Linked DNA regions of Homo sapiens: all the other regions are linked to region 1. The links are contacts of gene promoters, found by promoter capture Hi-C in human tissues and cell types (Jung and others, 2019). All regions are on one chromosome and are shown on one strand. The core of a region is centred on a gene start or on the middle of the fragment in contact, and the rest is flanking DNA. Distances in the headings are between cores, read along the strand shown. Region 1 holds the start of BCL6 (BCL6 transcription repressor). Region 2 has its middle 48 kb from the start of TPRG1-AS1. Region 3 has its middle 53 kb from the start of TPRG1-AS1. Region 4 overlaps LPP (LIM domain containing preferred translocation partner in lipoma).

Evidence for each region. Contacts are between HindIII fragments. The study calls those that stand out against the background at their distance.
Region 2: a contact is called between a fragment that was not itself captured here and the fragment with the promoter of BCL6 in region 1, in 2 of the 25 tissues and cell types used here (lymphoblastoid cells and thymus).
Region 3: a fragment that was not itself captured here is called in contact with the fragment with the promoter of BCL6 in region 1 in 1 of the 25 tissues and cell types used here (lymphoblastoid cells).
Region 4: a contact is called between a fragment that was not itself captured here and the fragment with the promoter of BCL6 in region 1, in 7 of the 25 tissues and cell types used here (H1 embryonic stem cells, adrenal gland, aorta and 4 more).

The regions. Positions count from the first base shown.
Region 1 is chr3:187,743,993-187,746,847 of GRCh38, reverse strand. BCL6 (BCL6 transcription repressor) reads left to right here and starts at 1,380. Exons shown (of 10, transcript NM_001706.5): 1 at 1,380-1,438. BCL6-AS1 (BCL6 antisense RNA 1) reads right to left here. Exons shown (of 2, transcript NR_173091.1): 1 at 2,804-2,855; 2 at 822-1,604. RefSeq lists an enhancer at 1,742-2,267. The HindIII fragment of the contact is 4,851 bases long and covers 29-2,855 here.
Region 2 is chr3:188,994,651-188,997,505 of GRCh38, reverse strand. It overlaps a transcript of TPRG1 not described here. Among named protein-coding and RNA genes, the nearest start is that of TPRG1-AS1, 48 kb to the right of the region's middle. The HindIII fragment of the contact is 7,765 bases long and covers 1-2,855 here.
Region 3 is chr3:188,892,772-188,895,626 of GRCh38, reverse strand. No RefSeq gene overlaps it. Among named protein-coding and RNA genes, the nearest start is that of TPRG1-AS1, 53 kb to the left of the region's middle. The HindIII fragment of the contact is 6,568 bases long and covers 1-2,855 here.
Region 4 is chr3:188,863,195-188,866,049 of GRCh38, reverse strand. The region is part of intron 9 of LPP (LIM domain containing preferred translocation partner in lipoma); the gene reads right to left. Among named protein-coding and RNA genes, the nearest start is that of TPRG1-AS1, 83 kb to the left of the region's middle. The HindIII fragment of the contact is 3,969 bases long and covers 1-2,855 here.

The DNA of each region.
Region 1 (2,855 bases), core at 131-2,630:
TAGTTGTGGCAGTCTGTTCTAAATACAGGCAGTATCTGTGATACTGGCACGGCAGGCCTTTAGAATTCCCTCCGGCTGATCTCTTAAACACAGACTGAAGAGATTTTTTTACAACGACCTTGAAACGAGCCTCGAAAACAAAAATCTCAAGACCTTAAGAGAAAACAAAACACAAACAGGTATTTGGCTCACAGAATTTTGTAGAAAACACACACATACCACCCCGCCACCCCCACCCTCCCCCCCACACACACGTTTCTTGCAACAAGAAATTTCCCAAGAGTCAACAATAACAGATTAAACCCACCACTTGCTGTCCTGGAAAGAAACAAACCAAACCAAAACAAATCCTTTGAACATTTCTCTGAAGTGCAGGAGAGACACACTTCAGCAAAAGTCCAAGGGGGAAAAAGAAAATTGCACCAAAGGAAAAAAAAAAAAAAAAAGTGGGGGCTGGGATTGTTACATATGGCCAAAAATTTAAGCTTCTTTCAATAGTATTAGTATTGAAATAATACATCTTTAAAACGCTTGAGGGATTAGATAGGGAAAGAAAAGGCACGTACAAAAAAATCCAACCGATGCCGATCCTGTGATTTACGTAACACCACAAACTTGCAAAAGGCAAAAAATCAGAAGCAAAAATCCATAAACCATCAAAATACAGAAACCAAAAATCCCAAGCCACCACACCAGAAAGAAAAAAACCCAGAACAACAGCAAAAACCCCTGTCCTAAATAAAAATAAAGCAAATGAACCCACCGAAAACTGCTTGGCAAATATTTTTCTCGTGGTGCCTAATATTCTAGTTGGAAAGAGCTGTGATGTTTATTTTATTTTATTTTTCTCTTACTCGCCTCTCTAACCCTACTATATATATAACATACTTTTCCCAGTGGTTCAAACCTCTCGCTCCCTTTTGTGCATTTAGCTCGATCTGCTGAGTTTATGGGTAAGAAAGAAGGAATTAGCCCCAGACCCCGGGAAAGCAAAGCGCACTCCCCCTCTTATGTCACCGAATAGCAAATTAGTTCTCAGAATTCCAGAGGCCGAGCTTTGCTACAGCGAAGGCGCCGACGTCACAGAGGAGGAGCCCACGTGATGGTGGCGGAGCAGGCCATACCATCGTCTTGGGCCCGGGGAGGGAGAGCCACCTTCAGGCCCCTCGAGCCTCGAACCGGAACCTCCAAATCCGAGACGCTCTGCTTATGAGGACCTCGAAATATGCCGGCCAGTGAAAAAATCTTGTGGCTTTGAGGGCTTTTGGTTGGCCAGGGGCAGTAAAAATCTCGGAGAGCTGACACCAAGTCCTCCCCTGCCACGTAGCAGTGGTAAAGTCCGAAGCTCAAATTCCGAGAATTGAGCTCTGTTGATTCTTAGAACTGGGGTTCTTAGAAGTGGTGATGCAAGAAGTTTCTAGGAAAGGCCGGACACCAGGTGATTATTGCTGTTGCTGCCGCCGCTGCTGCTGCTACTGCCGCCGCCGCCGCTGTTGCCGCTGGTGCCGCTGCCGCCGCCGCTGCTCATGATCATTATTTTACCTTTTAATTCTTTTTTTTTCCGCTCTTGCCAAATGCTTTGGCTCCAAGTTTTCTATGTGTATCTATTGATATAAATGTATATATTTATTTATTCTAGCTGTCAGGTGTTAAAATAAATGCCGAAGATTAGTCCCACGTCTCTCCCACCATAGGATATAGATTGTTATGTATTTATTATTATTATTGTTGTCTTTGAGTGAATCGGCCGGTTTGGGGAGGCTTTTGCCACCCTCCCTTGTGTTGTTTTGGTTTTTGGAAAGGAGGTGGAGGAGAGGAAGGAGGGGAATTAGGGGGCGGCCGGAGCAGAGAGGACGAGACAGTGCTTGGGGGGTGATTCGGGCTAGTCTGGGGGCTGTCTGGCCCCAGACCGCGGAGAGGACGCGCGCTCGCGCTCTCGCTCTTTCTGCTGCTGCTTGCGTACGGCTTGTGATCTCTCTGGATTCGTGCGGCTGTGTTTTTTCCCTCTTTTCTCGCTTGCAAACTGCTTTCCTTGCTCCGTCGCTCCTGGCCTCCGCTTCCCTCCCTCCTCTTTTTCCTCGCCTCTTCTTCCTTCCCTTCCCCTGTCCTTCTGGGTAACTCCGGGAGGCAAAAAGGGAGGCTGCCCGCTCGCTCGCCCCGCTGGCTCTCTTCCATCGGCCTCGGTCTTTTAGATTCCCTGCCTTCGAGCCGAACCGAGATTTGGAAGGAAAAAATGCAAGCGAACTCTTTGGGTTTTTGTTTTTGTTTTTTTGGTCATAAATCCAGATGAGATGAAGTATCGTGTCTACTATTTCCTTTCAGAGCCGTGATCTTCCTAATGAGAGCCGAGTGTTTTGGTGTTCCCTGCCCCTGTGTTTTGGGGAGCTTGGGGGCGGGGATGTTGAACACTTTGAAAATTATTCTTTCTTGGTTGTAGTCGAGGGAGTCGGGAACCTCCGCGCGCTCTCCCTGCTCATCCCGAGGAGAGAGACTGATGGCGGGACAGGGCTTCTTGGGGTGGGTGGGAAAGGGGTGCGCACTGCACCTGCGATGCCTTTCAGTGTGCGGGGGGACTCAGGGAACCTCGACAGGACAGCCTGGGAGAACGAGAAAGGTGGCGGGATTTCTGGCCGCTGCGGTGTTTGTATTTTGGGCGCTGCGTGACTCTGTGTTGGCTCCCAATGGCTGTTGCCTCCCTTTCCTAAATTTTATTTTATTTTTTCCCATGGTGCAAGCTCTGTAAAAAGGGAACTGCGGGCCTGAGCGTAGTGGACGCCAGGCTTCAGATTCCCGAGGTCCTTACCTTGGGCGAGGAGAAAGACGAACAGAGCCCCAGCCCGCGTTCCTTATGTGCA
Region 2 (2,855 bases), core at 182-2,681, 1.3 Mb before region 1:
ATCAAAACGTTACACTGTACTTCATAAGAAAAACATTTTCCTATAGCTTTCCTCAGAGTTTGATGTATTTAAAAATCTGAGGAAAGATTTTCTGAACTGTACAGAAAGTAAGAGAGTATTTAAAGAGGACCATCTGATGGAGCCAGCGATTACAGTGAGAGCCCCAGGGGAAAAGTGACACATAAGGCAATAGAATGGATGCTTCTCAGCTTAGAAATTATTCTACCTATGTCAAATCTTGAAAATGTTTGCTAAAGAAAAAAATGCATAGAAGGAGGGAGAGAGAGAAGAAAACATAAATGACATGAATTTAAAAAGCACTTCTGGCCGGGTGCAGCGGCTCATGCCTGTAATCCCACCACTTTGGTAGGTTGAGGCTGGTGGATCACGAGGTCAGGAGTTCGAGACCAGTCTGACCAATTTGGTGAAACGCTGTCTCTGCTAAAAATATAAAAAATTAGCCAGGTATGGTGGCACGCGCCTGTAATCCCAGCTACTCAGGAGGCTGAGGGAGGAGATTCACTTGAACCTGGGAGGCAGAGGTTTCAGTGAGCCAAGATCGCACCACTGCACTCCAACCTGGGTGACAGAGTGAGACTCAGAAAAAAAAAAAAAAAAAGAGAAAGAAAGAAAGCACTTCGAACTGGCACTGACGAACCTCACTTGCTTTGAGTTGTTTTTCCAGCAAGGAAAATAGTTTGTGCCAGTGTACCTACCCTCTAGCACCAAGTCCCTCTTGTAGTCATGTTGCTCATAGCTAAGAGGTATCTCACAGTTTAAGACTCAATTTCAGTAGAAAACATATTTAATTAATTTCAACATATTTTCCAGATTAAACGTTAAAGTAAAATACAAATAGATGGAGATGCCATTTTTATTTCTGATCTTTTTGTATATGGCATCTTCTCTCCTAGTAGCTTTTAGAAAACTTCTCTCTGTCCACAGTATTCTTGGTCTTTTTTTCACTTCTTATGATAGCCATGACATGTACATCTTCAACCTGAAAAATCAGGTCCTTTGGATCTGGGAATTTTTTTTCAATCATTGATTGGGTAATTTCTTCTTCACTGTTTACTCTGGTCTTTATTTCCAGAGCTCCTGATAGTTGACTCTTTGAGGATATGGTTTAGTCTTTCAATTTTCTTCTTTATTCTATTAACTATGTCCTTTGTCTTTTTTATTTTAATTTCCCGGTTATGTCTGTATTCCAGCCATTCTTCAGACCTTTTTATTACATATTTTTAATCTCCCAAAGCTCTTTTTTATTCTCCAGTTGTTCTTGTTTCTTGTTTGGTTTTTAAAGATATGAAACATCATATTCTTATTTCCAGAATATTCTATATTTTTATATCTCTCTGAGGATATTGTTTATAATTTTAATTGGCTTCTTTCATTATATCTACTTTAATTATTTTTATTTGTTATTGTATTTTATTTATTTAGTCTGTTTTGTGAGAGGCTTTCCACAGATGCTTTTCTTTTTTCTTGGAATTGTCTGTTTCCTTTGACAATTTTTCTTTAACTTCGATACATTTTTCTTGTTGCTATTGAACAGCTCTTTATATATTAAGGATATTAGCTCTCTGCTTTAGTATGGTCATAATTTTCTTAGCAATTAATTACTTGCCTCATTAAGACATCTGCATAGAAAATTTTAATTGCTATTTGGTTATATTTAGTGATCATTTTATCTTGGTGGTTTCAGTAATACTTAGACAAACCTTCCACAATGGAAGATTATATTTTATAAAATGTAGGTTTTTCTAAAATTTCAATGGTTTCTCTCATTTTTTACATTGATATTATTCGTTCCTACAGAATTAATTTTGGTGTAAAAAGAAAAGATTTCACTTCCTTTTTTCCCACACAGCTAGACACATGTATCAACATAATTTATTGAGAAATACACTGATTGGAAACGTCATTGGTATCAGTTAGGGTTGTATTTGGCTGGATATTTTATAAGCCTTACCAAAGTCATTAAATTAAAAAGATATTTTCCAACATTTAAGCAGAGATCCACAGATGAAAAGTGCTGGACTGTTTTTGCATTGCCATTACTGTCTCTAAAATCCTGCTCCTTATATCTTTATTCTTACAGTTTCCTCATGTGATGTAAAGGCTGCTCAACCCCTCACCTAAAATCAGTATATTCAGACAAGAAGGAAGAAGACAGAGCAGAAAAGGAGGGGAAAAACAAGGAGAAGGAGGATGAAGAAGAGGATGTGATGGTGGTGGTAATAAGGAGAAATAGGCAATGCCTTTAACAGGAAAGGACCTGTCCCTAAACCCCAGTAGACAGCTATTTACATCTTCTTTAGAAGGCTGTATCTTATGGACATATTTGCTGCAAGAAAGGCTAGGAAATGATTTCTAAAGCTGGACATATTGTTACCTTAAGCTTGTATGCGGCTCCCATTAGTAAAAGAAAAAAGGACAATGGATGTTGGATATATAACTAACAGTTGGGTACCAATTGCTACATGCACTTGATGGATGATTTAGTGCATTTGGTTGTGTATAAAATAATAATGCAGAGTATTTTATAAAACAGAACATCTGGAAACAAATTAGTTATATGTATTTAAAAATAAGAAAAATTAATAAACAAGGCAACTATTGACTTCAGGGAAAACAAAGAACTGTATAAAAACTCAAGCAATCATAATTTATTATTTATCTTAACAATAAACCTTGCTTTTACAGTCATAATAATATAAACATTGAAATCTTTCTGACTTCAGAAGATAAGAAAAAATATTTCAAACTTAGCCTTTAAAGTTCAATTTATTCATCCTTGCTCAACTCCTGAGCCCCAGGTTACAATGCATCAAGAACCTCCCTGAGGAGACTAA
Region 3 (2,855 bases), core at 121-2,620, 1.1 Mb before region 1:
GCTATTAATGAATTTTTTGGTGCATTAATGTTATATCTACCAAACTTGATAAACTTTTCTGTTTTGTTTTGTTTTGATACGGAGTCTCGCTGTTGTCCCCCAGGCTGGAGTGCAGTGGTGCAATCTCGGCTCACTGCAACCTCTGCCTCCCGGGTTCAAGTGATTCTCCTGCCTCAGCCTCCCGAGTAGCTGGGACTACAGGCGCCTGCCACCACGTCAGGCTAATTTTTTATTTTAGTAGAGATGGGGTTTCACCATGTTGGCCAGACTGCTCTCAAATTCCTGACCTCAGGTGATCCACTTACCTCAGACTCCCAAAGTGCTGGGATTACAGGCATGAGCCACCACACCTGGTGATAAACTTTTAAATGTGAATTTTTTACATATTACTTTGAGTTTCTATATAGTTTGCTATATAGCTATATCATAGGTGGCAGTTTGGCTTTTTATAGTCTTTATATATATATATATATAAAATTCATGTTTTTAATATAGCTGCACTGACTAGAGTCTTCATTACAAAATTGAATAGAAGGGGCCTATCAATAAAAGAAAGATAGTGAGCATCTTTCTCTTATTTTAGACTTAAAATAATTACTTTTAACGTTTCACTATTTGGAGTGATTTTTGCATAGATAGCCTTTATCCAGTTAAGAAAGTCCTTTCCACTCCTGCTGTGTGTTTTTTTAAAACATAAATGTTTTCTTTTATTATACTGTTTTTAAAAATCTATTAAATAATTTAATCAAAAGACCTTTCTTTTAAAACAAACAAACAAAGAAACAAAAACAGAGTCTCACTCTCTCACCCAGGCTGGAGTGCAATGGCACAATCTTGGCTTACTGCAAACTCCACCTGCAGGGTTCAAGCGATTCTCCTGCCTCAGCCTCCTGAGTAGCTGGGATTACAAGCGCCTGCCACCATGCCCAGCTAATTTTTGTATTTTTAGTAGAGATGAGGTTTCACCATATTGCCCAGGCTGGTCTCGAACTCCTGACCTCAAGTGACCCACCCACCTCGGCCTCCCAAAGTGCTGGGATTACAAGCATGAGCCACCACGCTCAGCCAATCATAAGGCCTCTCTATTTTGTTCTGTGAATGTGGTTCCGCTCACTGTAACCTTGGCCCCCCAGGGTCTAGAGATGCCCCTGCCTTAGTCTCTCGAGTAGCTGGGATTACAGGCACCCACCATCACGCCTGGCTAATTTTTGTATTTTTTAGTAGAGACGGGGTTTCACCATGTTGGCCACGCTGGTTTCCAACTCCTGACCTCAAGTGATTGCCCACCTCAACCTCCCAAACTGCTGGGATTACAGGTGTGAGCCACGGCTCCGGGCCATGTTAATAGACTTTCTAATGTTCAACTACTCTTCTATTTCAGGGTTACACCCAACTTATTTGAGCTTTGTTGTTGTCGTTGTTTTCTTCATTACTGTGCTTGGTTTTCCAGTAGTTTATAAGATTTTAATCGATATATTCACTAATAAGATTGGCCACTTGCCTTATAGATTATGTTGGAGAGTGTTCCCTTTTTTTTTCCATTGTAATTCTAACTTGAACAACCAGTAGAATTCACATTTAGAATCAAGATACTAGGTAGTTTTCGATAAAGAAAATATTTTATCCACTGAAGTAGTATATAAATAAAATGCACAAATCATAAATGTATTGCTCAATACATTTTCAAACACTAAACACAATCATATAACCAGCACTCAGATCGTGAAGCAGAATGTTACCAACCTAAAATGTTAACCCAAAAGCCATTCTCATGCTCCCTTCAAGTAATTATTTATTGGGAATATTTTAACCACTAATACAATTTAACTTTATTGGGTTATTCATGTTGTCTATTTTTTTTTACTCACTTTTTGTTAGGTTACAATTTTTAAAGAGGAACATTTTTATTTCATCTACATTTTCAAATTAATCACATGAAATTGCTCATGCTATTCTGTTATGTTTCTAATACCTGCTGTTATCTATAAATATTTTTCATGCCTTTTTTTCTTGATAAACCTTCCCAGAAATTTGCAATTTCTAACGCTTTTTCAAAGTGCCAAATTTTGACTGTTTTGATATTCTATTATATTCTTGTTTTCTATACCATTAGTTTCATTTTTTTCATATTTTAATTATGCCCTCCTTATATTTTGAATCTTAATTCTGTTCTTTTACTAACGTGAGTTGGATGAGTAGCTCATTAATTTTCACTTTATTTTTAATGTAATCATTTAAGGATTTACATTTCCCTCTTGGAACCATTTGAGCTGACTCCTACAAGTTTTACTACATAGAATTTTCATTATTGTTCAGTTCTTATGATTATGATTTCTATTTTGAAGTAAGCCATTTTAGGGATGTTTTAAAATTTCCAAATGTAAATTTTTAAAATTACCCATGGTTTTTAATTTGCGTTAAATGTTGACATGATGAAAATATTCAATTTGTGTGAAAGATGCTTTGAATTTTGCAGATAATTGGCCTAGAAGGTCAGTTTTAGTAGATTTCTCATATGCACTTTATATATATATATATGATGTATATATATATATATAATGTATATATATATAATGTATATATATATATAATGTATATATTTTAAAAGCTTATTTTTTATCCAATAAGTATGGAGATTCTTATATATCCATTAAAATCAAGCCTTTTAATAATGTTAAAATCTTCTATATCTTTAGTGATTTTTTGTTTTTAACTCATTACTTGAATAGTTACTGAAGAAGGTGTTATTAAAATATCCTTCTCTGAGGGTGGATCTTTGAATTTTTATGGGTTGGGTGTGATGGCTCACGCCTGTAATCCCAGCACTTTGGGAGGCCGAGGTGGGCGGATCACCT
Region 4 (2,855 bases), core at 189-2,688, 1.1 Mb before region 1:
TTAATACAGTCCTTACAAATAGAAAACAAGTGTTATCGGCCAATTAACTAACAAACTGGCCAAAGAAGTGTGTTATAGAGAGAAGGAAACACAATTAGATGGGTCAAGTGGCTTTTCTAGTATTACTCAGGTAGTAGGTGGCAAGTCCAGAACTGAGGACATGTGTTTTCTGACTGCTATCCTTGTTCCTTCCCTTGTTTCCTACAGCATGGGTGATGGCAAACTTTTCTCTAAAGTCCCATATAGTAAATATTTCTGGCTTTGTTGTAACAAGTCAACTTTGCTATTATAGCTGGAAAGCAGTCATAGCATGCAAGCATATGGGCATGCTTGTGTTCCAGTAATACTTTATTTACAAAAAAAAAACAGACAATGGGCTGGATTTGACCCATGGGCATAGTTTGTTGACCCTTGAACTATACCACTCTGGTTCACCGATTGAGGAATGCTTCACTATTACTTCTAAAACTTGATTCATTATCAAAGACATAGTGTGACCACTTAGACCATAGTGCGATCACTAAGACCCCTACTTTTTACAGAATAGCCTGTCAGATGACTGAGACAGAGCATGCTAAATGCAGAACCCAAATCAGAACTCAGCATAATCAATTAGGCTTCTGATCATTTAAAGCTTTGATTTACACACCATCTCCAAGTTTAGAGTTTGCAAACTCTTGACAGAAATGTTGAATGTAGAAGGGAGCTGGTTTGAAAAAGTGAATTAAGAAACACATTTATCTGGCCTTAAAAATATTCTAAGCTTTAAAAATATATAGCACCCCTTAAAAGAGACACCAGTTAGTGAGTCAGGTCTCAGAAAGATCGGCTGTTAACTTTCCATCCTGCCCTTTAATTCCATGCTCTTAGCAAACAACCACGTTTCACATGTAAAATGCTATATTACAACTGAGGTATCTGGATTAACTCATTGAGTTTACAATCAGGAATAAACCCGGGATGTGGATCTTATTAGAAAGATGCAGAACTGAATGGGATGTGGAAATTCAGGGGTAGCTGCTCTTTTACCATGAGGATATATAAATGGCTATGAAGCAAGAAGTGTCTGTACGTAGGTAACTAGTGTCCTTATGTCTAACCTATAGCAATGACCTATGATTTGGCTTCTTTGTATCTCTCTTCTTATAATACTCCCCTTGCCCCTGTCTCCAATGACTTCCAGTTTTCTTTCCAAACACAGATGTGATCAAATACAAGTACCTTTCTGGATAATAAAATCTTAATGGCTTCACAATGTAAAAAGAGCTTATTCTTTACATGGTATCCAACCCCCCTTTATGGTTCTCATAACATCTCAGACCACTCACTCTTGTTCAAACCTATGTGAAACTCCCATACTTCTGTGCCTTGGCTAATGCCTAGATGTATCGCAATTTGCCATTTTGACCTTTCAGGGTACAGGCTAGAAGGCCATTCCCCAGTGAAGCCTTCCTCAATGGTCCCACTTGGAATGAATTGCTTCTTTCTCTCCCATTCCTGAGCACTTTATTTGGTTTGCTTACAATACTTTCAGTGTGCACTTTATTTAAATTATTTGTGCTTATGTCTATTTCCTCTACCAGACTTTAATTTCATTAGGGGCAGAGACTATGTCTTAAGAATGTATTTCTCTGTCCTATAATGCACCCAGTATACTGTCTGAAATAGAAATAAGCCTGAGATGAATGTGTACAAAAAGAATGAACGAATGAATATTGTTTATATCCCACTCTGGCAGCACAGTGCTGGCCTGACTCCCTTAACTCTGGAATCCATCCCAAGATGAATTGGTAAATCCATCATCATCCTTCCCTCAAAGCTGTGGTTGCCTGAGGTTCTGAAATTGCTTCGTATGCCTCTGGTCACAGTCTAAACGCATGGAAACTATTAACCTATTTGTTTTTCCCATTTTGAAGTGGTGAAATTAAAATAGCAGAAGAGCACAGGGTAAGAGTTTGGAGATGATGATGGTTTGAAGAATGAGGGCCTGTTTCTTTTCTACCCTGACAATGTGAGCTAATGTGGCTGGAAATTGTCTTCCCAGGACTTGTGTTTTGCTCCTCTGTGGGTTTTTACTTTTTTTTTTTTTTTTTTAGTCAGCCCTGTAATGGAGTTGAATAACCAGAAAATGTTTGGCCAGAAAATGTTTTTGTTTGCACTGAGGCTTGGCTGCAAGATTCAGCTCATTTACTCAAAACTAGCAGCAATATAACAGGCTTAGTTCCTATGGAAAGACCTTGTGGTCTACAGATGCTGCATTCAAAGAACAGGTAATACAAACATTTCTGCAACAAAGGAAAAAAAGTATAAAATGTGATTAAAATCAGCCTATTGCAAAATGCCCGCAAATTGGAAAATAAAGGTTCCAAGAATGAAGTTGACTGGCATCCTAGGCTAGTGAATGATGTAGAAGGACATGTTATCCTTCGACAGCCTGCGCCTTTTACTGCAATCTTCCCCTTTCAGTCTCCAGTGGGGCCTACCAGTAGCCTTCGAGAAAGGAAAAACTCACAGTGTCAGGAGGAGGGGGCTGGGAGTTCCCTTAGTCCAGACTCTCATTCCACAGGTGAGCAGGCAGACTTTGAGAATGGATGTGCTGGACCTGAGTTGTGGAGAGCATGAGATGCAGAGGTGGGACTGGTACCCCAGTTACCTGACTCCTAATAATGCAGAGAGGGAGCTAAGGAATTCATTATGTGGCCATGAAAAAGGAAAGTTGCTAGGTGAAGAATATGAATTATCCTTCTGGCTTTGTCAAAATCTGCTGTATGACATTGGGTAAATAATTTATTCCTTCGATCTCAGTTTTCTCATTTGAAAAATGATTAATTCAAACTCTGTAATTGTATTAATCT